Regions from separate parts of the Homo sapiens genome. Here regions 1 and 3 are each linked to region 2. The links are contacts of gene promoters, found by promoter capture Hi-C in blood cells and fetal thymus (Javierre and others, 2016). All regions are on one chromosome and are shown on one strand. The core of a region is centred on a gene start or on the middle of the fragment in contact, and the rest is flanking DNA. Distances in the headings are between cores, read along the strand shown.

Region 1 (3,424 bases), core at 925-3,424, 280 kb before region 2:
GGGTTGGCTGGGGAAAGAGGCTGAGTGATGTCCACAGAACGAGTCATCCTATCCACTTGATTATTAAAATCCTCCTCTGCTGAGGTCACCCGTTGGTGAACACTCACAAGAGATACAAATATCTTCACAGTTTTTGACTACTCAGAGAGGTCCATCCACATACCTCTTCCCCAAATTTCTTTGTCATCAATTTTCCAATTATGCTTCTTCCAAGTCCCTGACCATCCAGCCAAACCATTGGCTGCAGCACATGAATCAATATATAATCACACATCTGGCCATTTCTCCTTCCATGCAAAGTGCACAACCAGGTGCGCTGCTCGAAGTTCTGCCCACTTGGAAGATTCCCTTCACTGTTGTCCTTCAGGGATGTCCTAGAAAGGGGCTGTAGTGCTGCAGCTGTCCACTTTTAGGTGGTGCTTGCATATCATGCAGAACCATCTGTGAACCAGGTCCTAGTCTTCTCCTCCTCTGTCAACTGATCATAGGGAACTCCCCATGAGGCCATCGGTGCAGGCTGGGGGAGAGAAGGCAAGGTGGCAGTAGTGGAGACCATAAGCATTCGAGTCACTTCCTCATGTAACTTACTTGCACCTTCAGGACCTGCTCGAGCCCGATCATGTATATGCCACTTCCATTTGATGATGGAATGCTGCTGTGCATGACCCACTTTATGGCTAGATGGTTCAGAAAGCACTCAGTTCATGATAGGCGGTTCAGGTCTCATGGTGACTTGATGACCCATAGTCAAACGTTCAGTCTCCACCAAAGCCCAGTAACAGGCCAAGAGCTGTCTCTCAAAAGGAGAGCTGTTATCTGCAGAAGATGGCAGGGTCTTGTTCCAAAATCCTAGAGGCTTCTGCTGTGATTCACCTATGGGGGCCTGCCAGAGGCTCCAAACAGCATCCCTATCTGCCACTGACACCTCAAGCACCATTGGATCTGCTGGGTCATATGGCCCAAGTGGCAGGGCTGTTTGCACAGCAGCCTGGACCTGTTGCAGAGCCTTCTTCTGTTCTGGACCCCACTCAAAACTGGCAGCCTTTTGGGTCACTCAGTAAATGGGCTGGAATAACACAGTCAAATGAAGAATATGTTGCCTCCAAAGTCCAAATAGGCCCACTAGGCATTGTGCCTCTTTCTTGGTTGTAGGAGGGCCAAATGCAGCAACTCATCCTTCACCTTAAAAGGAATACCTCAGCAGGCCTCTTGCCACTGGACCCCTAGAAATTTTACTGAAGTAGAAGTTCCCTGAATTTTAGTCAGATTTATTTCCCATCCTCTAGCATGCAAATGTCTCACCAATAAGTCCAGTGTGTTTGCTACTTCTAGCTCACTGGATCCAATCAGCATAATGTCATCAATGTAATGGACCAGTGTGATATCTTGCAGAAGCAAAAGGTGATCCAGGTCTCTTAGAATAAGATTATGACACAAAGTTGATATACCCCTGAGGTAGGACAGTAAAGGTATATTACTGACCTTGGAAGCTCCAGGCAACATCTCTCACAGATACACCCACACTTTGTATCCTTCATTCTTATCAAGTTGACACTCAGAATTAACCATCACAATTTGTTAAGCACAGGAAAAGAATTGAAAAACATATTCCTAAGATACATATCTTTTTTTTCAACATAGGTGTTCTTCAGCACTACACAATTAGCATATTCCTACATCATCTATACAGCAACTCGTATATCTCCACTGATTTAATTTCCTTATCTGTCCTAATTACTTACTTGATTGTTCAAATATACACACTTATACAAAATTCAAACATAAAGAAGTAGATGACCACACAATATGTCCTATTCACTGCTCCTTAAAGACAAGTGGGGTTCATATATTTTCCAAATATATACCCGAGAACAATATCACCAGGGGAGCAAGAAGTAGCAAACACACTGGACTTATTGGTTGAGACATTTGCATGCTAGAGGATGGGAAATAAATCTGACTAAAATTCAGGGAACTTCTATCTCAGTAAAATTTCTAGGGGTCCAGTGGCAAGGGGCCTGTTGAGATACTCCTTTTAAGGTGAAGGATGAGTTGCTGCATTTGGCCCTCCTACAACCAAGAAAGAGGCACAATGCCTAGCATGCTGACTTGTTTACCAGGGGCTGCCAGGGATAGCTGACTAAATGACTATTCTACTCAGAGGCTTGACTAAAAGGGAAGATGAAATATAAAGTGATAGCCAAAAAAAAAGAAAACACTTGAGTGCATGTTGAGGCTTTTCGAAGAATATTATTTGTCTTGTTTTTCATTAAGATAGTAAAGGTTTGAAAATCTTTACCAGGCTGAGGAGAAAATCCAGTAGAAGTAAGATAATTATGAGAATGGAGCCTAATGGGGGTAATGTCTCCAGTAGATGAAGTGGAAAGTGATTTATCTGACATTTGGCTTATGGAAAATTTAATTCACAAAATATCAAGTACAGAGGGATTTTGAAAATCATTAAATCTCCTCTCATTGGGCAAATTTTTAAAAATACAGCCCATATAGTTAAATGGCTTTTCCAGATTCAATCCTTTGACTCCAATTTTAATTGTGAATCTCAACTCAAATGTTGATTGAGGTTGTGAGGAAATTTATAGAGCTACTTCTTCCTGGAAACTCTCCGGATAGGGCCTGCAAGCAGAAAAGAAAGAAGAAAGGCAAGGAGGGAAGGAGGGAGAGAGGGAGAGAAAGAAAGAAGGAAGGAAGGAAGGAAGGAAGGAATGAAGGAAGGAAGGGAGGAAGGGAGGGAGGGAGGGAGGGAGGGATGGAGGGAGGGAGGGGAGGGGAGGGGAGGGGAGGGAGAGAGAAGAAAGAAGAAAGAAAGAAAAAGAAAGAAAGAAAGAAAGAGAAATCCTTTAACTTGCATTAAATTTCAATTTCTTCTTATCCAGTTCTCTCATGACCTCCTGACATGTTGGATAAATTAATGAAGAATAGATGAATATTGTATTAGTCCATTCTCTTTTTTTTTTGAGAGAGAGTCTCGCTCTCTCACCCAGGCTGGAGTGCAATGGCACAATCTCAGTTCACTGCAACCTCCGCCTCCTGGGTTCACTCCATTCTCCTGCCTCAGCCTCCCGAGTAGTTGGGACTACAGGTGCCTGCCACCACGCCTGGCTAATGTTCTGTATTTTTTTTTAAGTAGAGACAGGGTTTCACCATGTTAGCCAGGATAGTCTCGATCTGCTGACCTTGTCATCCGCCCGCCTCAGCCTCCCAAAGTGCTGGGATTACAGGTGTGAGCCACCGTGCCTGGTGTTTTAGTCCATTCTCACACTACTATAAAAAACTACCTGAGACTGGGTAATTTATGAAGAAAAGAGTTTCATTGATTCACAGTTCTGCAGGCTATACTGGAAGCATGGCTGGGAGGCCCCCAGGAAACTTACAATATGGTGGAAGGCAAAGGGGAAGCAAGCAC
Region 2 (3,432 bases), core at 704-3,203:
CCGCCCACTGCCAGGCTTTCTGCAAAGCCCCTCGGACATCCGGCACAGGTTTCCCACCCCGACACTGCGAGCACGAAAGCCCTGCCTGAGACACGCAGCCAGGACGCACAAGTCCAACCCACGCACACACGGCGACTCCACGCTGCACTGACCGAAGGGGGCATTGCCTGTAATCTGCACACGCCTATCTCCTTTTGGGTCGAGAGAAAAAAAAAAGATATCATATTTCTTAAAGTGAAAGAAAAATGGCTTTTTAAAAAAAGGGCATTTTCCAGGGTCCCACTGCTCACTCCGGGCGCGCAGGACCCAGCTCCCGGAGCTGTAAACTTTCGGTGCAGATTTGCTTGCAGTCAAAGTAGCATCTTTGAAATAAAAGGGGGCTTTTTTGTTTTTATTTTTTAAGTGATTTCTGCCGATCCGATCCCTGGCCTCCTTCTTCAAAGCTGGACTCCCTACCTCCGCCCCTCTTCTCTTTCCCAGTCCCCCCTCCCCTTTGAAAGTGCTTTGAAACCCCCATTAAGAACAGTGTGTGATCAGACTGAGGATTAGGGGAAAAGAACTTCAGCTCTAGGGTGGGGCAAACGGACACAGAAACTGCTTTGTAAAAAACACACAAGAATCCAAATTAAAACACAGCAACAACAACAACAAAAGGAAATAAAAAATTGCCTATTTTGCCACCTACTTTCAGGTAATGGAAAATGATCGCGACCGCTTGATGACTTTCTTCCTGCGCTGGGTCAGCCCGAGCTTCCAAAAATAAAATAAGTGTGACCCAGGCTGACCACGAAGAACGGAAGAGAGAGAGCTGCACTTCCGAACCGCAGAGACCCGGCGCCAGGCAGGGCGACGCTCCCACCCGCTCCGGGCTAGACTGTCCACACGGAGCAGAGGCGGGCACTCCCTCCACCCGGCACCCTGCCTTTTTCTCACCCTGGAAGTCTCCTGCCCCCGAGGCGGGCAACCTGTGTCCCCCAGCCCCACCAGCGCCCCGCCTAGGGACAGCCTCTCCCTGGACTTTGCCTTCCACCAAGAGGAAGAACAGGTTAGAAATGCGGGCGCCTGCAAAGGCAACCTGGAAAATACAAAGTGTTTTTCTCTCCCTCTCCCGCTCTCAGCGCCGAATTCGCGGCCAGTGCACGGCTGGGAGCAGACTTCAGGCTAGCTGTCCTCCGTCCCAACCCCCTAGAGCGCGGGCGCGCGGGGTCGCCTGTCGGGGACACTGCACGGGGTGCATACAGAAGTCCCCGCAGAGGCAGGCCGAGCCCAAGCCCCGGGCGAGGCAGGTCCGCGGGGAGCGCCCCGGATCCTCGCGAAGACCCTGCGGGATTTGAGAAAGGGAGGCTCGGGGAGAGACGGACCCAACTCCTGGTCCGGCTGCACCTACTCCATGTTGCCCACAACGCGCCGGCCGCGGCGCCAGGAGGGGAAGAGCCAAACGTGCCTCACCGTGATCGCGGCTTTGCACCAACCCCTCTCCCTTGGATTCTCTTCTTTCTGCGATGTGCAAATAAATCCAGTCTCGATGCAAACTTTTTTCCTTTCTTTCCAACCTCTGCTTTAGACCAACTTCCGAGCAATCGGCGGGAGAAAAAAAGAGAATTCGGAGCCAGATTCCCCGCTGATGAACACTCCGGGGTTCGGAGCTGGAGACGACTCCCCTTCTACAAGCGCACGCGGAGTATTTCCTCTTTTTTCTCAATGAACAAGAGGCCGAAGCGCCAACGGCAAGTCCCTTTTCCTGGCAGATGAGCGAATGGGAAAAGAAAACGGCCTTACGGAGAACCTAAAGCCAGATCGCCAAGTGGTGCGGCCGGGGCCGCGTCGTAGCGGAGGCGGCGCGGGGGCGCGGGCCGGGCCGGGCCGGGCGGGCGCGGGGGCCTGGGCGCTGCGCGCTCCGCCGGCCCCTCTCCTCCGCTAGCGCTGCGGCGCGCAGCTCTCGGCGGTGCAGACTGGGCGTTGTGGAGGCGAGGCAGCGAGGCCGAGGCGGGGGCGGTGGGTGCGGAGGAGGAGGAAGAGGAGGAGGAGGAGGAGGAGGAGGGTCTGGGGCCCGCCCGGGGGGGGCTCGCCGTTGGCCTGCGCCCTCGCCTTTCCGGAGGAGGCAGGGAGCTCTGCGGCGGCCGCGGCAGCAGTAAATGGCGTCATGTGGATCCGAGGCGGAACAGAGCAGTTGTTGTCCCAGAGGATATATCGCATCCGGTCCCAGCTCATTGGCTCCGCGGGGCTACATTCACTCACACTCCAGCGCCCGCCAGCGCTCCGAGCCGCAGGAGGCATTCAAAAGGGCAACCGCGCCGCCCCGCGCGTCCCCAGGCCGGTCCTGCCGCCCGAGCGCCGTCACGCGGGGCGCCCGCGGGGCCGGGCTGGGCACTGCAGGGTCAGTTTATCTAGTTTCAAGGAAACACTGACCTTAAGGTTTGCCCAGAGGCAATGAGGACGAGCCAGAGGCTCGAGCTGACTTAGGGAACTTTCTCCTTGCCACCAGGAAAGGGGAATGAACATTTAAGACTAATCTGGGCCACGCAGTGTTAGCATGAAAAACAAGTTGCAGGTTTTAAGACTTTATCCAGAATCCATTTCAAGTCTACCTCTCCCCTTTTCTGTTCCCCTTTGCGGAGCGGGTGACGGGGGCTGGGGCGGGGGGAGAAGAAGGGGGAGGGGAAGGGGAGCGGGAAGTGAGGTGGGAGGGCTATTGGTTTATTCTTTGTCTACTGGATTAACCCGATTATACACCAGGCACCAGCACAAACCGCCTCCCCCACCTCCGAGCCTTGTACGGGAGGAACGGAATGCAGATTCGAGTTTCAAGTACCTTCTGCTCTTGCTGGGATTTGCTTTTGATTGTGTCGACTTGTAGTTTTTCCGTTTATTAGAATTTCATTTTTAAGGGGGGTTATCTATGAATGGAGGCTTTTTGAAGAGCTTCCTTACTATTTTGCTTCATGCAGTAGCTAAAGTCTACAGTCTAAGCCTTTTAACTTAATTCATTAATAGACAGGAACAAGATTACTCAGGGCGACAGCATGGGCTTCCGAAATGGGGGGGCGGGGGGGAGGGAAGGGTTGGCTCACTGCAGATTTCCTTCTTCCCTTAACTAAAAGTCATCCTTCATTTCCCACTTTTCTTGCCACCTAGAACATTTCTCAAGATTCTGTTGTCCATGTTGAAGGTGCACTATTCTTTCCCATTTACAAAAAAAAAATAAAGATAGAAAATGCATACATATGCACTGTCCTAGCTGCCGTTCATTTACTAAGAAATGTGCCTTCACGTGGGAGCACCAGTGGAAAATTAAAACTTGCGCATACACACGCCTAATATTGCATTCTGTCGAGCGACTTACAGAATGCTTTTACTTTACAGGGAAGTACCTGCTTGTACGGTCAAAATTCCCGAATAGCACCTGCGATCTTGCCCCATGCGGGGTGTTCT
Region 3 (3,345 bases), core at 63-2,562, 280 kb after region 2:
AGGTAGATGCCAAACCTTTAAGGTGGTATGTACGTTAAAGGAAAATTTGCTTTTGAAAGCTTTTTTTTAAAAAGACATTTTTTCAGTGTCACCATTAGCCTATTATGTTTAGCAATCAGCAGCATGGGTGCAAAAAAAAATCTACATTAAACATTTTGTTGGAATGCCGTATGTTTTCCACAAAGCAGAAACTAAAATAACCTGTTATGCAATTAGTTACAAATTTAGTTCTTGAGTCTTTTGCCCATACACATGAGTATTGTCTAAGGCATGTCTTGTAGCAGCTATGTCCTGCCACCACAGGGCTTGGCTGAATTCACAAATCTGTTGTAAACTGTAACTTTCCTGTCACTTCTCTGGCTCTTTTCTCCACTAAACTTTGTTTCCTGGCAGAAATTAAAACCTTCTGCCACTGTCATAACTACTGCTGCTATTGGAACCATCATTGTAGCCACTATGGTTTTGTGGTTGGGCAAAGTGTTGACTTCCACCATTAAAGGGTCTAGAGCTTCTGCCTCCAAAGTTTTCTCCCCTCGTGGCTTCAAAATTTAAGGATTGCTTATTGTAATTGCCAAAATCCTTGTAGTTTCAACCACGTCTCAAACTGCTCCCATCATTATCAATTCCATTATAGCCATGCCCACTGTCACTGTATCCACCACCACCATGATTGCTACCAAAACCTCCTCAACCACTGTGGCTTCCTCCATGACTCAAGTTGTCATCCCCATCGGAATTACCTCCACAACTTCAGCCAAAGCTTCCAGAACTACTTTAACCTCTTTGGCTGGATAAAGCACCAGCCATTTCTTGTTCAGACAGAACTTTTTTACTTCACAGTTGTGGCCATTCAAAGGATAGTATTTCCAAATGACAGTCTTATCCATGTAGGCATGGTCATCAGAGGTTACAGAAGCAGAGCCCCTCTTCTTGCCATTGCCTCAGACAGTTATGATTTCAATCACTTTAATGTTTACATACTGTTCAAAATAATTACTTAGGCATTATTTTTCAGTGTCTTCTTTAATGCCACCAATAAAGATCTTTTTTTACAGTTAAGCAGGCCCCTGGTGTTTGAGAATCTTCTCTTGAGACAACCCTGTTTGGTTCCACAACTCCTTCATCCACCTGTGTGTCCTTGCATTCAAGCTGCATCCACTTCCACCCACCTCCACCACAGTGGCATATGTGACAAACCCAAAGCTTCCCGAGCATTTGGATCACTTATTGCTGTACAGTCCAGTAAGCATTCTCCATTGCTCAGAATGGCTTCTCAGACTCATTGGTTGTTTTAAAGCGCAACCTTCAAACAGATGAAGAGTTTCCTCAGCTGTTTAGGCTCTTTAGGAGACTCTGACTTAGACATGATGGCAGCAGGAGAAGAGATTTAGAGATGCTTTCTCCATGGCATTCACCAGTAGAAAGCTTGAAAACTTTTAACTATCAAAAAGTAAAATGTAATGCAACACTTTTGGTATTGTAAATCCTGTATTATTTGGCTTCCTGTGCCCGAGGTTCTCTTAAGTAACAGTGGGGAAAATAGATTCCAAAAAACGATGACAAACAAAAATGAATGAACGAATAATGGTGGGTCTATGAGGGTAGTAGAAAAAAGAGAAAAGAAAGTTTTGAAGAGATACTCCAGGGTTTGTCATGCTTGAATGTCCACTGCAGTTCTGCCATTCCTGACCAATGAAATTTGGCCAAGCTAATGAATCAGATTGCTCATCGGTAAAATAGAGGTAATATTGCAACTATTGTATATGGTAGTAGTGACAATTAAATATCACCTGTTGTGTACTTAAAATAGTGTATGGCAGCAAGTGCTTAAGAAATGTTAGTATTTATTATCACTGCTTTTTATTTATCTAAATCATAATTAAGATGACAAACACTGCAAAAAGGAAAACAGATCATAATAAAGCCATATATATATATATATACACACACACACAAATATACATATCAGTATTTATAAAAATGTTCCGTTTAATCATGCAAATAATAGGGTCTTGGTAGGCAGTCTCTTTCTATTTTCCACAAATTCAAAGCATTGTTTCTGAATAGGCTCAACTCTGACTGTAGGGCCCCTTTTTGATATCTGCAAGAATCACCAGCAACAGAATCACCAGGACACAACCTAGCATTTCAGAGTTAGAATCCTTCTGCTAGAAAGTGGAAGAAAAGGAAAGATGTCATTTACAATGTTGATTTTAGGGACAGCTCGTTCATCTCAAAGAGATCAGGCTCCCTGCTCTCAGAAAATCTTGGGATTAGGCTTTTTTGTCCTCTTTCACGATTGCGTCCTTTTAATAAAATGAATGAATGTATCAGGAGAGGAAATAATAATTATAAAAATTTTTAATGTATTATTATTTAAGAATATATTTCCTAGAAATAATTACTGCAAATTTTTAAGAAAGTTGAGGCTCAGATTTAAATAGATGAAAAGAATAGTCTGTTCTTAACACTTTCAACAAAGTTATAAATATGCATATTTCTGAAGAGCTAAGATTATTTTTAATTCAACAGAAAGAAACTGATGAAATATTTGTATTCCCTGTACATGTGAGCTTGTACTGCATTTACTACCATGACATGCAGTGAGTCTAGAATTGGCCTGGATGAGTATGTCATCCCTAGGCCTGGATTCTTTTCTTGGGAATATTGAAGGGGATTCTGCTTACTGTGGGAAGAAAGTTTTCCTTTAATGATGAATTTATCTACCCGATTAAAAAAATACATATATATTTTTGGAATTTGTTGAGTGGGTTGTGTTCTTACTATTCTTGGTACACTGACTGTGTCTCCCACATTTAGCCTACCACCTTACCTCTCAAAACAATTGTTACCAGGTACCCAAATTGTCTTTCTCCCAGTCATTATCAGTGTGTAAAGATCATCTGAGAAGTGATAAAAGGGAGTCTTTAAAAACTTTAAGTTTTCCACTTTGGGAGGCCAAGGCGGGTGGAACATTTGAGGTCAGGAGTTCAAGACCAGCCTGGGCAACATGGTGAAACTCTGTCTCTACTAAAAATACAAAAATAAGCCGGGCGTGGTGGAGAGCACCCAAAATCCCAGCTACTCAGGAGGCTGAGGCAAGAGACTCGCTTGAACCTGGGAGGCAGAGATTACAGTGAGCTGAGATCGTGCCACTGCACTTCAGCCTGGGGGATAGAGTGAGATTCCATTTAAAAAAAAAAAAAAACAGAAACTTTACGTTTTCATTTAGAAAAGTTTTCCATGAATGTTGTGTGATTTTTTTTTTTTTTGGAATTATGAAAGCAGATGGCCTTATGGTGTAAGCACATAATCCTGACAACAGAATCCTCCTTCATCACTCAT

What was found. The method cuts DNA at HindIII sites, captures the fragments that hold promoters and counts their contacts. A CHiCAGO score of 5 or more calls a contact.
Region 1: a contact is called between a fragment that was not itself captured here and the fragment with the promoter of SPRY2 in region 2, in 1 of 17 cell types (M2 macrophages). The highest score is 5.6, in M2 macrophages.
Region 3: a fragment that was not itself captured here is called in contact with the fragment with the promoter of SPRY2 in region 2 in 1 of 17 cell types (naive B cells); the score reaches 5.1 in naive B cells.

The regions. Positions count from the first base shown.
Region 1 is chr13:80,063,846-80,067,269 of GRCh38, forward strand. No RefSeq gene overlaps it. Among named protein-coding and RNA genes, the nearest start is that of LINC01080, 54 kb to the left of the region's middle. The HindIII fragment of the contact is 8,120 bases long and covers 1-3,424 here.
Region 2 is chr13:80,339,173-80,342,604 of GRCh38, forward strand. SPRY2 (sprouty RTK signaling antagonist 2) reads right to left here and starts at 1,954. Exons shown (of 2, transcript NM_005842.4): 1 at 1,450-1,954. RefSeq lists silencers at 1,902-2,091, 2,322-2,371. The HindIII fragment of the contact is 9,098 bases long and covers 1-3,432 here.
Region 3 is chr13:80,618,702-80,622,046 of GRCh38, forward strand. It overlaps the pseudogene HNRNPA1P31. Among named protein-coding and RNA genes, the nearest start is that of SPRY2, 280 kb to the left of the region's middle. The HindIII fragment of the contact is 222 bases long and covers 1,202-1,423 here.